Regions from separate parts of the Homo sapiens genome. Here region 2 is linked to region 1. Evidence: promoter capture Hi-C in human tissues and cell types (Jung and others, 2019). All regions are on one chromosome and are shown on one strand. Each heading gives the region's core, a stretch centred on a gene start or on the middle of the fragment in contact. The rest is flanking DNA. Distances are from core to core; before and after follow the strand shown.

Region 1 (2,682 bases), core at 71-2,570:
CCACCTCCCAGCAAAACCTCCAGGATCCGCCTCAAACCCAGCCCCATCCCACAGCCACCACCCTGGTCCGGGCCACCAATAGCTCTTGCTCAGACACAGGCAGTCACCTCTCCAGGGAGCACCCAGTGTCCATTCTGCCCTCGTTCTGGTCTATCCTTCACCCACAAATGGAGAGTATATTTTAGCATTAGATCAGTTCATGTCACTCTCTTGCTTAAAACCCCCGCCTGGCTTCCACTGCCTGGCATGAGAATCACCGCCACCTGCCCTACGGGACTGGCCCTGCCACCCCTGCCACCTGCCCCATGCCCGCTCCCCTAGCTCATGGTCCCCCAGAGTCACTGGCCTCCACCATCCTCTCAGCGAAACCCCACCAGCCACCACTGCGTGCCGCCCACCCACCCCGCCAGCCTCTCCATCACGTCTTCCTGCCTTCCCTTCTTTTGGGAAACTCTTTTTTTCTTGTTTGTTCATTTTATCTTCTGTGTCCCCAACTCGAATGGAGGCCACGAGGAACATTGTCTGTCTCATTCACTTCTGTGTCCCCAGAACCTAGAACCATGCCTGGCACACAGAACGTGCTTAATAGGAACTGAGACAGAGACATACAGGGAAGGAAAGAGGGAGAGAGACAGAGAAAGAGAGAGAAAATAAGAGAAGGGGAAGGAGAGATGGGGGAGAGGGAGGGAGAACCGCACACTGAATCCAGGGGTTCCTCTCCCACCCTTCATGTGCCTATGGTAACAAGGGAGTCCCCCTCTTCTGACCCCTTGTTGTCATCAAGCAAGAACGTCCGAGCCCCAGGCACCCTCTGAAATTCCCAAGAAGGAAGCATCCCAAGAAGGAAGCATCCCAAGAAGGAAGGCCCACAGGACGCTGGTCTGGAGCCATCCGGTTCCCGGTCTGCTCACCACGCTCAAGGAGCCCCTTAACAGGACCAGGAGGAGAACAGGCACCCAGCCTGGGGTTCCCCCCGGACAAGGCCATGCTGTGACCCAGGCTTGGTCCTGGCCCTGACCATGGGAAGCCCACCCCACAGGCCCTCACCCAGGCAGGCCTGAGGCCCATGCACCACTAAAGGCCTGGAGAGGGGGTCCCACCCCAGCCTCACCTGGGTCCCCTGGGGTCAGGGTGAGCTGGGACAGAGGGACCACCTGTTGCTATGGGAGAGGGAGAGGGCACGACTTTCCCAGTGGAATGGGCTCCTGCTGTGCTCTGAGCCCTGGGTCACTGTCCCCACTCTGGGGAGGGAGGGGAGGAGCCTGGAGCACCAAGGGCGCGGCTGGCAATAAAGGCAGATGCTCAAGTTGATGCCACCCCACGCACGTGAGGCTGGGACCAGGGGTGGCACTGACACGGCTGGGGAGCCCACTCCCGAGGTTCGACCCGGGGATGTGCACAGCCACATTCCAAAGGCGCACGGGATGAGATCAGCCCGGGTGACCCTGGGACTTTGTCCTCCTCGGCAGGAGCCAGCCCTGTGCACCCTGTGTGCCTGTCCATCTGGAAGGCCCAGCATGAGAGGCCCGGCCGTCCTCCTCACTGTGGCTCTGGCCACGCTCCTGGCTCCCGGGGCCGGAGCACCGGTACAAAGTCAGGGCTCCCAGAACAAGCTGCTCCTGGTGTCCTTCGACGGCTTCCGCTGGAACTACGACCAGGACGTGGACACCCCCAACCTGGACGCCATGGCCCGAGACGGGGTGAAGGCACGCTACATGACCCCCGCCTTTGTCACCATGACCAGCCCCTGCCACTTCACCCTGGTCACCGGTGAGTACTGCCCTGTGACGGGGCCTGGGGGTGGGAGGGCCTGAGAAACCAGATGGCACAGAGCCGTGTCGTGCAGGATAAAGGGGAGAGGTCCTTGCTCCAGGCACAGGACAGAGCCAAGGGGACCATTAGGAATCCTCACCGTTGGTAGCAACAGATCCGGGACAAAGAAAAATGACCAGGGGGGTCCTTAAACCCGTGGCCACAGCCAGGGCAGCAACCCCAGAAGGCTTCAGGAGGAGGGGAGTGTGGCGGGCTCCCCGCTGGCTCCCATGGCTCCCCTCCCCTGCCCGCCCCTCCAGCTGGCTGTGTCAGCCTCTCCCTCTCCCTTCCATCCTTTCCATTTTCCACCCAACACCTCCCTGACAGATCTGCCCAGGCTGTAGACAATACAGACATAGGTTTTTAAAAAGCCAAATATGGGGCCAGGCTCAGTGGCCCACGCCTGTAATCCCAGCACTTTGAGAGGCTGAGGCGGGCGGATCACTGGAGGTCAGGAGTTCGAGACCTGCCTGGCCAACATGGCGAAACCCCATCTCTACTAAAAATACAAACATTAGCCAGGCATGATGGTGCATGCTTGTAATCCCAGCTACTTGGGAGGCTGAGACAGGAGAATTGCATGAACCCAGGAGGTGGAAGTTGCAGTGAGCTGAGATCGCACCACTGCACTCCAGCCTGGGTGACAAAGCAAGACTGCATATAATATATATATACATATATATATACATATATATATGTATATATATATATATATACACACACATATATATATATATGAGGCCAAGGCAGGAGGATTGCTGGAGTCCAGGAGGTAGAGGCTGCAGTGAGCTGCAATCACACCACTGCACTCCAGCCTGGGTGACAGAGCAAGACCCTGTGTCAAAAAAACAAACAATAATAAAATAATAA
Region 2 (2,682 bases), core at 121-2,620, 40 kb after region 1:
AAAAAAAAAAAAAGAAGAGATAAGATGAGGACACAGATGTGCACAGAGGGACAACCCTATGAGGACGCAGGGAGAAGACACCGTCTACAGCCAAGGAGAGAAGAAACCAACCCTGCCCACATCTTGATCTAAAACTTCCAGCCTCCAGAACTGTGAGAAAATTAACTTCTGGGAGCCCCTAGAAGGGCTCCCAGGGCATGGAACTTTGTTGTGGCAGCCGGAGGAAATACACGACGGGAATAGCCAGTGCCCCATCCTGCAAGTCTAGGAAATTAAGAATCTTCCACTCATTTAACACAATCCAAGCAGTGCTAGGCTCAGTGGCTGCTAAACTGTTTTCTGATCTTGCCCTCTGGAGAGGGTACAAATGACCCCCAAAGTGGCCACAAATTCTTCCAGATCCTGTATGGTCACTCATTTGCTACTCCTCTGGTCAAGAGGTTGGAGTTTACCTCACATGGCTTCCATGCAACTTGCTGTGGCCCCTGGGACGTCAGCAAACATGGGACCCCAGCTTCCATTGGAACCACCGAAGAAAGGATCCACGCTGGCCTGCTGCAGACAGACAGCCCCGCCAACAACCAGCACCAAGCACCAGCCACGCAAGAAAGGCCATCCCAGGCCATCCAGCCCCAGCCAAGCCGAAGCCATGTGAGTGACGCCGGCATGACCAGCAGGAGCACTGAGGAGCTGAGCCCAAGGATGATCCGTCAGGCTAAGGTGTTCTCCCCGGCTAGGCCACAGCCCCCAGGTACTCAGGCAAACGCAAATCCAGTCGCTGCTGTGACTTGAGGTGAAGGAGCTTACCCCGAATAATCTGGGTGGGTCTGATCAATTCATTGAAAAGAAGCAACTCCGCCTGTGGACCGCAGCGCCAGCTCCTGTCTGAGTCGCCCCGGCTGCCTCTGAGGAAGGCTTGCTCTGCAGTTTGGGACTCGCCTCACCAGACCCCACCATCACATCAGCCAGTGCCTTCAGTAAATCTCTTTGAATGCTGATATTTCTATCTATTGGCTGTTTCTCTGGAGCACCCCGTGGTCTAGGTTGGGCTGGGGGTTCTGCTAGTACTTTTGTCATTCCCTTTGCTTTCCTGTGGCTGGAGACTGTGCTTTGTCATCGTTGCTGGCCCAGTTCCTGCCCGCCCTTCTCCTCCAGGGCATCCTACAAATGTCCTGTGCCACCACCTCTCATAGCGCTGCCAGGAGCAGTGTGAGAAGGACTCATGACCACGCCTCAATCCTGAATTCCCCTCGCCCGTTCCTCTCTGGATGCAATCTCACTACTTTGTCTTACTTCCCCTGCTTCAGAGGGCTGAGATTCGCCATCCTGGGGGGCACATGTCCCCATAAGCAGCATTCACACAGGACAGGGGCCTCTAAAGGCAGTGACCGCAGGATGCAACTTGTACTGAACCCAAAGAAATATGAATGTGAGGCCGGGCACAGTGGCTCATGCCTGTAGTCCCAGCACTTTGGGAGGCCGAGGTGGGAGGATCACTTGAGGTCAGGAGTTTGAGAGCAGCCTGGCCAACGTGGTGAAACTCCATTACTAAAAATATAAAAATTAGCTGGGCGTGGTGGTGTACGCTTGTAATCCCAGCTACTCGGGAGGCTGAGGCAGGAGAATCACTTGAACCCAGGAGGCAGAGGTTGCAGTGAGCTGAGCTAGCACCACTGCACTCCAGCCTGGGCGACCGAGCTAGACTCCATCTCAAAAAAAAAAAAAAAAAAAGAAAAGAAAAAGAAATATGGGGAGGGATAGCTTTAGGAGATATACCTAATGCTAAATGACGAGTTAATGGGTGCAGCACACCAGCATGGCACATGTATACATATGTAACTAACCTGCACATTGTGCACATGTACCCTAAAACTTAAAGTATAATAATAATAATAAAAAAAAAAGAAATATGAATGTGAGGTCAGTGGCAGCCTTTCCTGCTGATGCAGCAGGGACATGGAAAGTACAAGGTTTCAGCTTCAAGGAGGAATATCCTATAAACGTGCCTCAAAAGACAGTAGCCATCCCTGCCAGCATCAGGAGCCCATTCTTTCCAAATACACAGAGTCCAGCGAGGACACGCCAGGCCATAGGAGCTGAGGCTGCCAAAAACGCTTCTGTGCCTTGTGAGTTAAATTAACATCATTTCGGTGCACAGTGGCTCACACCTGCAACCCCAGCCCTCTGGGAGGTGAAGGCAGGAGGATCTCTTGAGCCCGGGAGTTCAAGACCAGCCTGGGCAACACAGTAAGACCCCCAATTTCTATAAAAATAAAAATAGTAGCCAGGTCTCGTGGCACACCTCTTGTAACCCCAGCTACCTTGGAGACTGAGGCAAGAGGATCACATGAGTCCAGGAGGTCAAGGCTGTGGTGAGCTATGATCACACTACTGCACTCCAACCTGGGCAACAGAGCAAGATCCTGTCTCCAAAAAAAAAAAAAAATTAGCATCATGGCTGGGTGCAGTGACTCACGCCTGTAATCCCAGCACTTTGAGAGGCCAAGGCGGGTGGATCATCTGAGCTCAGGAGTTCGGGACCAGCCTGGCCAACATGGCAAGACCCCGTCTGTACTAAAAAATATAAAAATTAGCCAGGCATGGTGGCGCGTGCCTGTAATCCCAGATATTCGGGAGGCTGAGGCAGAAGAATCACTGGAACCTGGGAGGTGGAGGTTGCAG

The links. Contacts are between HindIII fragments. The study calls those that stand out against the background at their distance.
Region 2: a contact is called between a fragment that was not itself captured here and the fragment with the promoter of ENPP7 in region 1, in 6 of the 25 tissues and cell types used here (IMR-90 fibroblasts, aorta, dorsolateral prefrontal cortex and 3 more).

Annotation. Positions count from the first base shown.
Region 1 is chr17:79,729,623-79,732,304 of GRCh38, forward strand. ENPP7 (ectonucleotide pyrophosphatase/phosphodiesterase 7) reads left to right here and starts at 1,321. Exons shown (of 6, transcript NM_178543.5): 1 at 1,321-1,770. The coding sequence starts at 1,518. RefSeq lists an enhancer at 1-120. The HindIII fragment of the contact is 31,927 bases long and covers 1-2,682 here.
Region 2 is chr17:79,769,092-79,771,773 of GRCh38, forward strand. No RefSeq gene overlaps it. Among named protein-coding and RNA genes, the nearest start is that of CBX2, 7.7 kb to the right of the region's middle. The HindIII fragment of the contact is 8,360 bases long and covers 1-2,682 here.